2 separate regions of the Homo sapiens genome follow, and region 2 is linked to region 1. Evidence: promoter capture Hi-C in 16 types of primary human blood cells and fetal thymus (Javierre and others, 2016). All regions are on one chromosome and are shown on one strand. The core of a region is centred on a gene start or on the middle of the fragment in contact, and the rest is flanking DNA. Distances in the headings are between cores, read along the strand shown. Region 1 holds the start of INSR (insulin receptor). Region 2 holds the start of ARHGEF18-AS1 (ARHGEF18 antisense RNA 1).

Region 1 (7,330 bases), core at 4,115-6,614:
GAGAACAGTAAAACAGAAGAACTTAGGCACAGGTGAGACGGGAGACACAGCCTTCCAGGAGGGGGGACTGGCAATGTCAAACCCAGAGGGGTCAAGTGAGGTGAGGCTGCAGGAGACGCAACTGGGAGATGAGAGATTAACTTCGAGAGCCATCGGTAAAGCAGCGGAGATGCAAGCCAGATGCTGGGGGCAGAACAGTGAGAAAAGAGTGAGATGGAAAGGGCAGGGAGGACTGGCCTGGGGAAGCTGGACAGGGTGGAGGCTGGAGGTCAGTGGTAGGTAATGGGGATTGGGGGGTACTGGGTGTTTAGAGGCTGAAAAAGCACGTGGGTAAATGAAGATTCTTTTTTCTTTTCTTTTTTTTTTTTTTTTTTGAGACAGAGTCTCTCTCTGTTGCCCAGGCTAGAATGCAATGGTGTGATCTCGGCTCACTGCAAGCTCTGCCTCCCAGGTTCAAGCGATTCTCCTGCCTCAGCCTCCCAAGTAGCTAGGATTACAAGGACCCGCCACCACACCTGGCTAATTTTTGCATTTTTAGTAGAGATGGGGTTTCACCATGTTGGCCAGGGTGGTCTCAAACTCCTGACCTCAGGGGATCCGCCCACCTCAGCCTCCCAAGGTGTTGGGATTACAGGCGTGAGCCACTGCACCCGGCCGAGGATTATTGAACAAAGAGAGGAGAAAGAGCAAGAGCCCAGATGGGTAAATGTCTCAGACAGGGAAAAGGTTAACTCCTGCAGAGACGTGCCTGGCAATGTCTGGAGACATTAGTGGTTGTCATGCCTGGGGGGAAGGGGATCCTCCCAGGACCACATGGGTGGAGACCATGGTTCCAGCTCAACACTCTACATACAGGACAGCCCCCACCACCAGGAATGATCCAGCCCCAAATGTCAGCAGTGCCAAGATTGAGAGTTCTGCTTAAACCAAAGAGGAATGGAAGTCAAGGGTAGAGTGGGGTGAGGTGGGGAGCCCTGGGGACTCAGCCCACACCCTGTGGTCTCTATGCATGAATGGGGAAGGGCAAGAAGCAGGTCTCCAGGAGAGAAGCAAAGAATAAGAATAACTGCAGAGGCCAGACACCGTGGCTCATGCCTGTGATCCCAGCACTTCGGGAGGCCAAGGCAGGCAGATCGCTTGAGGCCAGGAGTTTGAGACCAGCCTGGACAAAATAGCAAGACTTCAGCTCTACACATTAAAGTAAAAATTAGCCAGGCAGGGTGGCGTGTGCCTGTGGTCCCAGCTACTACGGAGGCTAAAATAGGAGGATGGCTTGCGTCCAGGAGGTCGAGGCTGCAGTGAGCCATCATTGCCCAACTGCACTCCAGCCTAAGCAACAGAGCAAGACCTCATCTCAAAAAATAATAGATAGCTAGAGAGATAGATACAAAAATCACACTGATTTTCCTCCACCCTTCATCCCAATCAAAATGCCATATTGGGCCCGGAGTGATGGCTCACACCTATAATCCCAGGTCTTTGGAAGGCCGAGGCAGGCAGATCACTTGAGGTCAGAAGTTTGAGACCAGCCTAACCAATATGGCGAAATCCCATCTCTACTAAAAATACAAAAATTAGCCAAGGGTGGTGATACACGACTGTAATCCCAGCTACTCAGGAGGCTGAGGCAGGAGATGCACTTGAACCTGAAAGGCGGAGGTCGCAAAGATCGTGTCACTGCACTCCAGCCCGGGTGACAGAGTGACACCCTGTCTCAAAAAAAAAAAAGAAAAAAAAAAAGGCCAGGTACGGTGGCTCACTCCTGTAATCCCAACACTTTGGGAGGCCGAGGCGGGTGGATCACAAGATCAGGAGGTCGAGACCATCCTGGCTAACACAGCAAAGCCCTGTCTCTACTAAAAATACAAAAAATAAGCCGGTGTTGTGGAACACGCCTGTAATCCCAGCTACTGGGGAGGCTGAGGCAGGAGAATCCCTTGAACCTGGGAGGTGGAGGTTGCAGTGAGCTGAGATCGTGCCACTGCACTCCAGCCTGGGTGACAGAGCAAGACTCCGTCTCAAAAAAAAAAAAGCCATATTGGTTGACATTAGAGATTAATGATCTGAAAAGTTCTTTGCCCCTCCCCAAGCCTTCAAGAGGCATCACAGCCCATTTATTTGACAGGATTTTGTTCACCATCACCCCAATCGTGGGGGGTACGGAGGCTCGGACTCAAAAGAACAAAGATTTGTTAAGAAACCATTGCTCTGCAGCCACACTAGCTAGATTGCAATCCCAGCCCTGCTGCCTGCTGGCCTCAAGCGAAGTTTTCTCACTTGTGAAAAGGGAAGATTAAACCGCACCTCGTGGGGTTTTGCCGTGAGGATTAACTGAGATTATATATGCAAAGCGCATAGAACAGCACCTGCTGAGAGCTTGCTCTTCTAATTCTTAGGAAGGTATTATGCAGAGAATAAGGAACTCCTTAAGATGATAAAGGAGCCCAGTACACCCAGGAACTCCACCACTTGTGCCCCACTGCAGAACAAATATTTACTGAACACCTACTATGTGCCAGGCATCGTTCTGGGCTCTAGAAATGCAACGGTGAACAACAACAAACCATAAACCCCTGCCCATATGGAAGCCATAAATGTGCAAAGAAATGGTAAATCCATTTACTGACCCTGAAAGCCCAGGCACAGATCCACAATTAATTACCAAAGCTACAAGGAACAGAAGAACAGGGAACCACACACACGCACACATAGAATCTGGCATAGTTCGAAACCACTCATCTTGGATTTTCTTTTTATTTATTTATTTATTTTTGAGACAGAGTCTCGCTCTGTCGCCCAGTGGCACGATCTTGGCTCACTGCAAGCTCCGCCTCCCGGGTTTACGCCATTCTCCTGCCTCAGCCTCCGGAATAGCTGGGACTACAGGCGCCCGCCACCACGCCCGGCTAATTTTTTCTATTTTTCAGTAGAGACAGGGTTTTACCGTGTTAGCCAGGATGGTCGTGATCTCCTGAACTGGTGATCCACCCGCCTCGGCCTCCCAAAGTGCTGGGATTACAAGCGTGAGCCACCACGCCCCGCCTTTTTTTTTATTTTTTTGAGACAAAGTCTCGCTCTTTGGCCAGGCTGGAGTGCAGTGGTGCCATCTGAGCTCACAGCAACCTCCTCCTCCCGGGTTCAAGCAATTGTCCCGCCTCAGCCTCCCAAGTAGCTGGGACTACAGGCGAACGCCACCAAACCCAGGTAATTTTTGTATTTTGAGCAGAGAAGGGAGTTTCACCATGTTGGCCAGGATGGTCTCCATCTCCTGACCTCGTGATCCGCCCGCCTCAGCCTCCCAAAATGCTGAGATTACAGGCTTGAGCCACCGCAGCTGGCCAGATTTTCTTAACAAGAACTCCAACTAACCGCCACCCTTCATTGAGCACCTACTGTCTCCCAGGCACCTGGGGGCGGGGCTGGGGGGGGGTGGGCCCGGGGCTTTTAGACATTATGTGATTGACAGAGTCGACTCAGCAAACCCGGTTGGTCCACTCTAGCACCTGATTTTACATGCACCCGTTTCCCCATCAATACATTTAAGAGCTTCAATTCCTTCCCTCCCTGACCCCTTCCTCATCACGACTGATTTCCTTTTATGGAGAAATCTGAAACAGTAACCCAACAGATATTTTTAAAGCAGGGCCTCAGACCCCACAGTGGGAAACCCAGGCTATATTCCTTAAATGATTGCGCCATCTTCATCTTACAACCCCAAAGGTGCCTATTGTCAAGCCCAAGGAAGATGCTGCCCACACGTGGGAGAGGGGCCCATGGGGTCAGGGGGAACGAAAGGCTCACTCAAGGTCAAAGGCTCCTTCATGAAGCGCAGGGCTGAGGGGAGAGGAGGGGTCAAGGAGACAGCAGACAAGGGACAGTAGTCCAGATTCTTGGGCAGAACGGGACACACAGAGGCTCAAGTCCTGGCTCTGGCACTGACTTTAGGGCAAGGGAGTTATGCGTCCTACATGAGCCTCAGTTTACTCCTCTGTGAAATGGGTGCATAACTGTATCTGCCTCCGGGGGCCACTGTGACAGTCCAGAGAGATAAGATAGACTAGGCTGTGGCGTGCGGTGATACCAATTACAATAAATAGGGTAAAAAACCGCCACTACTTCTGCTACAATTGCTGCTGTTGCTAAGGCTTTAGAATTTGCCTCCGGACATCTGGAAACAGAACCCAAAAGGGTAAACATGGACCTAGAGTCCGGGGTGGCCACGGGCCTAGATCCAAGGTAGTTGGGTAGAGGGGGGCTCTGCAGTCCCTGACCCCAGGCAGCGTCACCCACCGGTGAGGCACTCAGGGCGCTTGGCTCTACCTACACCATATGCGCTCGGGGGACTTGGCTGTTCGGGGCTGTCCAGACCCAGTGACCCCACTTCCCGGCCGCGACCCAAAGATGACGCGTGTCGTGTCTCCGGAGCGACTTGGGCTCGGAGGGGCCGGGGCACGGGTCGGAGGCGCGCTCCAGAGAGGAGCCCGCGGCGGGGCGGGCACCGGGGCAAGGTTCCTCGGGCTCAGGTCGGGCACGCAGGGCGCGGAGGCGCGAGCCCGGGCGGGCAAAGGCCAAGGTCAGAGGCTTCCCGCTCCCCCTACGCGATGCAGGAGCTACCGTCCTGGCCACCGCCCCCCGCCCCTGGGGAGGGTTCTCAGTCCACAAGCGGGGGCTCGATTTTGGCTTGGGTGGGGTCCTCTCCCCATCGCGGCGCTCCCCGCCCACGCCCGCGCCCCCAGACTCACCCTCTCCGGGGTACAGGTGGCCCGCGGCGCCCAGTAGCAGCGCGGCCACCGCCACCAGCAGCGGCGCGGCCGCCGCCCCCCGCCGGCCCCCGGTGGCCATGGCTGCGGGAGCGCGGGGTCTCCTCGGATCAGAGCGCGCGGCGCTGGCCCGCGGGGGTCATGCTCCGAGGCGGCCACCCAAGAGGCGCTGGGGGCCGCGCGTCCTTCTCTTCCACGCCCGCGACCCGCGGGCCGCAGCCCCCCTGCCGGGGAGGGCCCAGAGGCAGCCCCGGGAAGGGCGCGCGCGGCTTCGCCAGCTACAAATACTGAGCGGAGGCCCTTGCGGTGGTGGCCCCGACCCCCCGGCCGCTGCGGCCCGGGCCCCGTCCCAGGATCTCGGGGCCCGGAGCTCCGCGCTGCGCCCGGGACTGTCTCTCGGCTCTCGGCCCCGCGCGCTCTGGGTCGCGATCTGCGGGCTCCGGGACAGAGGGACGCGCGGACCGACGGACTAGCTGACTGGCGGGCGGGCACCTGGGCTGGCGGGTGGCGGGCGGGCGGCGGGAGAGAGGGCTGCTCGGGCCCGTAAACAACGCGGCCCGTCAGCTGGGCCCCGTGCGGGCCGCGGGAAAAGGCGGCGCGGATCTGGCCTAGGAAGGGACTCTGCGCCCGGGAGAGGCCCAGGAGAGGGAGGGAAAGCTTGCAGGGGAGGGAGGTGCCGCCCGGCCCCGCCCCGCCCCGCCCGCCTCCCCGCCTCCCTGTGCCGGGCCCCGCGCGGGAGGCCCTGGGCGCGCCGGGACCGAGGGCGCGCCCCAGATCCGCGCGCCCTACAGCCCCGAGTCTCCTCCAGTTTCAGACCCCCGGAGGCGCCCCACAGGCCCGACGCAGCGGCACAGATCCTTTCTCTACCATTTTGCTATTTTGTTCATAGTGGGCTTTGGAGGATTCCTGTTGATTTTTTAAAAAATACTGCATTAAAATGTTTATTTTGGTGACTCGAGGTGGTTTTGGTTTCTTTCTTTTTTTTTTTTTTTCACTCCCTTAAATTTTGCACCCCAGGCGAGTAGTGTCTCACTCGCCTTTCCTCAGTCCGGGCCTGGCCAGCGACACTCGTCCCAGAGCGCGTGGGCGCCCCCAGATGTCCCGCCCGCGAGTGCGCCCCGGCCCAGGGGCGAGACCCAAGCCAGGCCCCTGGGGACAGCCACGTGCCCGCGTGCCCAGTGCGCTCCCTGTGTTCAAGTTGGAGAAATGACACCTGGAAAAATGTGCAGACGCTTCTGAAAGGGCAAAGACGACGCCAAAGAAGACGCCGGAGACCTCGAATAGGGCGCAGGTGGACATCTCTGATTTTCAGCAGACCAGCCTGTATGTGTCTGAAGTCTAGCAACGACATTCACCAACAAGGCGGGACAGCGGTTCCACCTACCTTACTGCAGGAGAGGAAGGGGCTTTCAGTATAGGAAAGCCAGAACTCAATGGGAGGAGGGTTCCTCCACCCCTCACTCCTGTGTGGTCTTGGACCAGGGACTTTTCTGTCTCTGGGCCAGTTTCACTTGTGTAATGGGTTTAATAATACCTGCATGCCAGTTCTGGGGAGGTACCCGGGAAAGAAAACTTAAGAAAGCGCCCAGCACAACCCTAGACCCAAGGCATTCATTCTTCTTTCATTCAATAAACAGTTTGCTAGGAGCTGGACCCACTGTTCATGCAACAGGCCAAACCTATTCCTGCCTCTGGGCCTTTGCCCCAGCATTTCCCTTGCCCGTAACACTCCAGGATGGCTTCATCTCTGAAGTGCCATCCCTAACCATATTTTTGCAAATCCTCCCCCCAGTTCCGTTTCCTTCTCTCTCTCTCTCTCTCTGTTTTTTTTTTTTTTTTTTTTTTTTTTTTTTTTTTTTTTTTTTTAGATGGAGTTTTTCTCTGTTGCCCAGGCTGGAGTGCAATGGCCAGATCTCAGTTCACTGCAACATCACCTGCCTGGGTTCAAGTGATTCTCCTGCCTCAACCTCCCAAGTAACTTGGATTACAGGCATGCGCCAGCACACCCAGCTAATTTTCTGTATTTTTAGTAGAGACAGGATTTCACCATGTTGGCCTGGCCGGTCTCAAACTCCTGACCTCAGGTGATCCACCGGCCTTGGCCTCCCAAAGTGCTGGGATTACAGGCCTGAGCCACTGCGCCTGGCCCCTTCTCTCTCATTTTCATAGCATGTTTACCCCACTACCTGCAATTGTTTGTTTTTTTTTTTTCTTTTCTTTCTTTTTTTTTCCTTTTGACAGAATCTTGCTGTCACCCAGGCAGGAATGCAGTGGTGCAATCCTAGCTTACTGCAGCCTTGAACTCCTGGCCTCAAGCAATCCTCCTGCCTTGGCCTCCCAAGGTGCTAGGATTACAGGCATGCGCCACCATGATTGGCCTTGAAATTCTTATTCGTTTTCTGTGTCTTCTCCCCTTCCCGTGAAGGCGGAAATCTTTTCGGTCTTGTTTCACTGCTTAAACCCAGTGCCTGACAAATCTGTTGCTTAATAAATATTTGTTGAGTGGGAGAATCAACAAGCAATAAGTAATAGGGGATTTTTCAGTGAGCAAAATAAACATGACCCATTTC
Region 2 (7,330 bases), core at 3,533-6,032, 100 kb after region 1:
TGGGAGGATCACTTGAGGTCAGGAGTTTGAGACCAGCCTGGCCAACATGGTAAGACCCCATCTCCATTAAAAACACAAAACAATTAGCGGGGCATGGTGGCACATGCCTGTAATCGCAGTTACTCAGGAGGCTCAGGTGGGAGGATCCCTTGAACCCAAGAGGTGGAGGTTGCAGTGAGGCAAGATTGCGCCACTGCACTTCAGCCTGGGTGACAGAGCGAGACTCTGTATCAAAAAAAAAAAAAAAAGAAAAAAGAAAAGAAAAGAAAAGAAAGAAAAATGATGTGGGTAGCACTCACTTAGCATGATGTCTGGTACACACGGGCAATGGTATCTTGTATCATCATCATCATCCTCTTCATTTTTTGTTATTGTCATTTAAAGTCTTTCAGCCAGTAAGCGGCAAAGCTAGCATTTAAATCATAGACGCTTGCCTCTGCAAAGCTGCAAAAACAAATAAAAATAATAATAAATCACAGACCAAGCCAGGTGTGGTGGCTTACGCCTGTAATCCTAGCACTTTGGGAGGCCGAGGAGGGAAGATCACGAGGTCAAGAGAGGGAGACCATCCTGGCCAACATGGTGAAACACCGTCTCTACTAAAAATACAAAAATTAGCTGGGTGTGGTGGCGCCTGCCTGTAGTCCCAGCTACTTGGGAGACTGAGGCAGGAGAATCACTTGAACCCGGGAAGCAGAGGTTGCAGTGAGCTGAGATCACACCACTGCACTCCAGCCCGTTGACAGAGTGAGACTCTGTCTCAAAAAAATAAATAAATAAAATAAAAATAAAAAAATAAATCACAGACCCTAACCCTGTTCTCTGACAACAAACCCCTCCCCACCTGTGTCAGGAGGCATGAAGGGGCCAAAACACCCATGTCTCATTCCCAGCAGGCTGAGAAAAGTCCTCCCAAGGTATAACTCCCCACAGGCCTACCTGCTTTTAAAGGTATTCAAAGTCAACGTGACAGTCTGTCCCGTTTCCTCCCGTCCGTGGGACAGACGGAGGAAACAGCCTCACAGTAAGTTAAACAAACAGAACAGAGAATGAGTCATACTCCAGGTAATTAGAGAAGGTGGGTCTCCACGATAAAGTTGGGATGCTTTTCAGAGAACAGACACCACGCCAGACAGTCCTGTTCCTGGCCTTGACCTTTGAGGCTGTTTATAATTCAACCCCACCTATCCCTCCACGCTTCTCTCCCACTACTCAGGTTCTCCGGACTCCACGGCCCAGTCACCCTGAAGTCTCATGGCTGTTCATACACGTCATACACATACGCTGTGCCTTGCTCATCCAGCGCTGTTCCTGGAACTCCCTCTCCCACCTAACTCTTACTCATCCTTTTAAGACAAAGCCCAGGCCCACTTCCTCCAGGAAGTCGGAATTAGGCTGGATAAGTGTCTGAATGTCTCTTAGGCCAGTTGCTCTCAGCCAAGGAAACATCTGGAGGCATTTTTTTCAGGACCAGGGGAGCCACTGGCATCTAGGAGGTAGAGACCAGGGATGCCGCTCAACACCCTCCAGTGCATAGGAGACCACCCCTGCCACCACCACCGAGAATTATCCAGCCCTAATTGTCGAAAGTGCCAAGCTGAGAAAACCCTGCTCTGGGCCTAAGCTCCTTGCATCTCCTTAGCTCCTAGCGCCCCTGGTCCATGCTAAAGACTCATAAATGAGGCCAGGTGTGGTGGCTCACGCCTGTAATCCCAGCACTTTGGGAGGCTGAGGCAGGCAGATCACCTAAGGTCAGGAGTTCAAGACCAGCCTGGCCAACATGGTAAAACCCCATCTCTACAAAAAATACAAAAATTAGCCAGATGTAGTGGCGGGTGCCTGCAATCCCAGCTACTCGGGAGGCTGAGGCAGGAGAATTGCTTCAATCTGGGAGGTGGAGTTTGCAGTGAGCCAAGATGGCACCACTGCACTCCAGCTTGGGCAACAGAGTGAGACTCCGTCTCAAAAAAAAAAAAAAAAAAAAAGACTCATAAATGCAGAATGGTTGGATGGATAAAAGAAAGATGGGAGATGTTTCTCCTTCCTAGTTGTCTCTGAGAAAGTTGGTTTCTATGTTTAGGGGAGGGCTGTGTCCACCTGAAGTTTCCTATAACCAAGATAGCTATAGAAATAAGGCTGATGGCCAGACCCAGTGGCTCACGCCTGTAATCCCAGCACTTTGGGAGGCCAGGGTGGGAGGATCACTTGAGGTCAGGAGTTCAAGACCAGTCTGGCCAACATGGTGAAACCCTGACTCTACTGAAAAAAAAACAAAAAAAAAACACAAAAATTAGCCAGGCTTGGTGGTGCATACCTGTAATTCCAGCACTCGGGAGGCTGAGGCAGGAGGATCACTTGAACCCAGGAGGTGGAGGCTGCAGTGAGCCTAGATGGTACCACTACACTGCAGCCTGGGTGACAGAGTGAGACTCTGTCTCAAGAAAGAAAAAAAAAAAAAAAGAAAGAAAAAGAGAAAGAAAGAAATAAGGTTCAAAGGCCGGGCATGATGGCTCACACCTACAATCCTGGCATCATAGGAGGCCCAGGCGGGCAGATCACTTGAGCTCAGGAGTTCGAGACCAATCTAGGCAACATGGCGAAACTCTGTCTCTACAAAAAAATTAGCCAGACGTGGTGGTGTGTGCCTGTGGTCCCAGCTACTTGGGAGGCTGAGGTGGGAGGACAACTTGAGCCCAGGAGATGGAAGCTGCAATGAGCTATGATTGTGCCACTGCACTTCCAGCCTAAGTGACAGAGTGAGATCCTGTCTCAAAAAAAAAAAAAAAAAAAAAAAAAGGAAAAAAAATAAGGTTCATGCCCCTAAGTCCATAAGCCACAGCTACACAGCTGCCCAACCATTGAGCCCTCATAAACTCCCGTGTTAGAGTTTCTGACCTCAGCTGCAGTAGGGTGCCTGGTGAATTACGTCTTGCATTTCTGGGACATCCAATTCCCTGAACATGCTCCCTTCCTCTGGACCATGAAGGTTGGACTTGAACTGAAGGCTAGTCCACCTGGGGACGCAACCCTCCAGCTTCTGAACTGGGGACTCTCAACAACATATTGTGCATGTTTTGAAGTGATTGGGTTTGGGGAAATCTTTTTTTCTAAAATAGAGACTGGGTCATGCGAGGTTTCCCAGGCTGATCTCAAAGCTCCTGGACTCAAGTGATCCTCCCTCCTCAGACTCCCAAAGTGTTAGGATTACAGGCATGAGCCGTCTTGCCTGGCCATGGGGAGATCTTCTAGGCCTGGCTGACCAGCCAACCTTGGTGAGAGCTGTTCTGCTCGACTCCTGGTTACTGTTCAACTGCCTCCCCTGTGGCAGGACTTGGATTAGACAGGCAACCTCAAGACTGGGGTGTCTGATGGCAATTGAGAGGTTGCTGGTGCTGGGGGAAGCATCTGGCCTATCCACATCTGCCAAATAGCACCTGTGTGGAAGTGGATAGGGGAGGGTATGGTATGTGTTTCAGACTCTGAGCACCTGTTTGAGGGTATCTGACAGCATCTGTATTGGGGTTATCTAGTATGTGTTTGGGGGTATCTGCTGGACCTATGTGGAGTGTCTGACATATTTGGGGGTTACCTGGAAGCCTGTTTTGGGTATCTGATGGCACCTGCCTGGGTGCCTGTGTTTAGGGGATCTGATGGTATCTATGTTGGGGTGTCTGAGACCACTGGAGAGGTATATGATTCATTTTTCCCAGACCCACCTTTCTGAAGTCTATGCTGCCTCTTTTTTTGTTGTTGTTATTTTGAGACAGAGTCTTGCTCTGTTGTCCAGGCTGGAGTGCAGTGGCATGATTATAGCTCACTGCAGCCTGGACCTCCCAGGCTCAAGTCATCCTCCCACCTCAGCCTCTGGAGGCATGATCATAGCTCACCGCAGCCTGGACCTCCCAGGCTCAAGTCATCCTCCCACCTCAGCCTCTGGAGGAGTTGGGACCACAGGCAGGCGCCTCCATGCCCTGCTCATTTTAAAAAATGTTTTGTAGAGATGGGGTCTTGCTATGTTGCCCAGACTGGTGGTCCTGAACTCCTGGGATGAAGTGATCCCCCCACCACTCCCTGATGCTGCTTCTTTTTTCTCAGGTGACAGACCCTGCCCTCTCCATTTCTTGGACTCTCCCCGCTAGGACTCCCCACCACTGGGAGTGCCCCCCTTAGGTACTTCCAATCCTAACGAGCCCGTAGGAGCCCACTGACAACCCCTCCAGGCATCCGTTGATTCTTCCAAAACACCCCCAGCTCCACTGTCCTCCCTTGGGGTCCCCTTAACCCCGCTATCCTCCCTCGGGGTCCCCCAACTCCGCTGTCCTCCCTCGGGGTCCCCCCAACCCCGCTGTCCTCCCTTGGGGTCCCCCAACCCCGCTGTCCTCCCTCAGGGTCCCCCTAACTGTGCTGTACCCCCCTTGAGATTCTCCAAACCGCTGTCCTCCTCAGGACTCCCTCCCCAGCCGCGCTAATCACCCAGGCTTCCGTTAACCCCACAAAACGCCCACCTAACCCTGCTGCTCTCCCTCTGGATCCCCGCAACCCAGCTGTCCCCTCAGAGCCCCCGGCCCTACTGACAGCCAGGCTCGCATTGCTCTCCTTCAAAAAGCCCCCCAACCCCGCTGACCCGCCCCTCAAAAGTCGCCCTCACCCTCGCCGCGAGCACCCTCCCACTTCGGTGCCCGCGCCCCTCTCAAGGCCGAGCCGACGCCCCCTCACCACGGCTCGGGGAGCAGCAGCCCCAGGTCCCCGGGAGCGCCCCGCCCTCGAGGGCACGCCTCCTTCCGGGTCACGCCCTCTGCCCCGCCTCCGAGGCGGGATCGCGCATGCGCTGCTCTCCTCGCGCGGCTTCCCGCTTCCGGCTCCCAGCTGCTAGCTACTGTGGATCTGGGGGGGCCGGACGGAGGCATCGGAGGCGGCTGCGAGAGTGGCAGAGGAGCTGGCGGAGAGCGGCCTGCGGGCGATCGGGCCGAGGTGAGGACGGCGGCGGGGCGGTCCCGAGGAAAACGGGGCTCAGGAGGGGGCCCTCGGTCTCTTCAGGGGGTGGCCTGGGGCGCGGGACCCCCGGGGCTGCCTCGGGCCTCCCGCCGGCTCCTGGGGGACTTCTCCAGGCAGGCGAACGGGTGCTGGGGTGCAGGCTGCTCCTTCAATGCATGGAGGCTCTAGGCGGCGATTGCAGGGTGCAGAGGTGCAGACGATGCCCGCCCGCTCCGTCCGAGCCCCAGCCAGTCCTGGGGTGCTACGGCTTACTCTCCTCCAGGAGAGGAGAGGAGGGGTCACTTGGGCCCCAGCCTCTGCTCCTCGTTCAGGAGCGCCCGGGGCAGGACCAGGGATGGAATGGAACCCACCACAATACCCAGCACCGTCGTATTTCAGGCCTCCCGGGAGAACCCTCACACCCCGGAGCAGACAGCCCTCCCTGGCAGGGAGCGTTTGGGTGCAAAACCGTGAGAACTATCTGTGCCATGGGTTTTAGTTTCTTGTATAAGAACTCAGTTGGTGCTTTCATTGCGGACGGGAACGAGAAGCTTTCCCCTGGTCCTTACATGTTTCGTTTTGTTTTACGTTTTTAAATTTCAACTTTTATTTGAGATTGAGGGGGTACATGTACAGGTTTGTTACCTGGATATATTGCGTGATGCTGAGGTTTGGGGTGTGACTGATCTCGTCACCCAGGTACTGAGCATAGTACTCAATAGATAGTTTCAACCCTTGACCTCCTCCTTCCCTTCCCGCTCTAGTAGAGCCCAGTTTCTGTTGTCTTCTTGGTGTCCATGAGTACCCAAGGTTTAGCTCCACTTACAAGTGGGAAAGTGCAGTATTTGGTTTTCTTTTCCTGCGTTAATTCTACTAGCACTTGAGTGTTTTGCTGTGGCTATCTGCCCCTTATCTCTTGCTCTGTTGAGATTAAAGCCTGGACCACAGGATTAAAAAACATTCTTAAAGTTTTACCACGGAAGCGAAGCGGCCAACACACCTTTTCCCCTTTGCCTTGTTTTCGCGGAGATGAAGCTCCAGCCAGTAGCTTTGAAGGGCCCCATTCTCTTCCCATTGACCAGAGAGAGAGTTCAGGACAGTATAGACAGCCCAGTGGCCAAGGGATGAGTTTTGCAGGTGTCTGAGTGAATGATTAATCCTCCAGCTGTAAGAGGTGTCAGGAGAGGCTGGGCGCGGTGGCTCAAGCCTGTAATCCCAGCACTTTGGGAGGCCAAGGTGGGTGGATCACGAGGTCAGGAGATCGAGACCATCCTGGCCAACATGGTGAAACCCCATCTCTACTAAAATACAAAAATTAGCCGGGCATGGTAGCGGGCGCCTGTAGTTCCAGCTACTCTGGAGGCTGAGGCAGGGGAATCACTTGAACTCGGGAGGCAGAAGTTGCAGTGAGCCGCGATCGGGCCACTGCACTCCAGCCTGGCGACAGAGCAAGACTGTCTAAAAAAAAAAAAAAAGAAGTGTCAGGAGCACAGGCTTGAGGTCAGATCCGAGCTGGGTTCTGGTCCCAGTTCCACCACCTGTTAGCCGTGTAACTTCACTAAGTTTCCGTCTTCCCATCTTTAAAATGGGAATAAGGGTTGGTTGGGGTTTCTATGAAGTAATCTGTGTAAGGTGCATCACAGAAGTGTCTGGCATATGGCAAACTTTCCATCAGTGTTATACACCCTTTGCATATGCGAATGCTCCCAGGCTTGGATGTTTAGGTTAACATTCCAAATTATAAAGAGTTTGGAAAATTTGAGCATCTCGGATGTTGTTTGGACCGAGTCAGGGTTTACGCTTTATCAGTAGTTTCCTATTTCTGTAGGTCAGCAAGCCTTTTTGCGAAAAAAAAAAAAAAAAAAAAATGAAGATGTGTTTGTTCTAGAGCAAAAAAGAGCAAACAGCTGGCAGGCATAATACATTTCATTTTTGTAAACGTTACTTTGTTTTGGTTTTGTATAGCTTATTTAGTTTTTGTTTTCTTCTGAAATTAGTATGTGATTTTACTTAAAATTTTTTTTTTCTTTTTAGAGACAGGGTCTCACTCTGTTGCCCAGACTGGAGTGCAATAGCACAATCATAGCTCACTACAGCCTCGAACTCCTGGGCTCAAATAATCCTCCTGCCACAAACTCCCAAGTAGCTGGGACTACAGACACGCGCTTCCATGTCTGGCTAATTTTTAAAAATTTTTTGGGCCGGGTGCGGTGGCTCACACCTGTAATCCCAGCACTTTGGGAGGCCCGGGGGGGGGCAGATCACGAGGTCAGGAGATTGAGACCATCCTGGCTAACACGGTGAAACCCCGTCTCTACTAAAAATACAAAAAATTAGCTGGGCATGATGGCGTGTG

Evidence for each region. The method cuts DNA at HindIII sites, captures the fragments that hold promoters and counts their contacts. A CHiCAGO score of 5 or more calls a contact.
Region 2: the fragment with the promoter of ARHGEF18-AS1 here is called in contact with the fragment with the promoter of INSR in region 1 in 2 of 17 cell types (fetal thymus and monocytes); the score reaches 7.5 in fetal thymus.

The regions. Positions count from the first base shown.
Region 1 is chr19:7,289,050-7,296,379 of GRCh38, forward strand. INSR (insulin receptor) reads right to left here and starts at 5,365. Exons shown (of 22, transcript NM_000208.4): 1 at 4,743-5,365. The coding sequence starts at 4,842. RefSeq lists an enhancer at 3,807-4,565 and silencers at 4,547-4,606, 4,657-4,796, 4,937-5,216, 5,237-5,626, 5,767-5,946. The HindIII fragment of the contact is 11,558 bases long and covers 1-5,415 here.
Region 2 is chr19:7,390,277-7,397,606 of GRCh38, forward strand. ARHGEF18-AS1 (ARHGEF18 antisense RNA 1) reads right to left here and starts at 4,783. Exons shown (of 2, transcript NR_186326.1): 1 at 4,717-4,783; 2 at 1-444. The region is part of intron 10 of ARHGEF18 (Rho/Rac guanine nucleotide exchange factor 18); the gene reads left to right. RefSeq lists silencers at 4,542-4,982, 4,691-5,260 and an enhancer at 5,471-5,650. The HindIII fragment of the contact is 12,223 bases long and covers 1-5,523 here.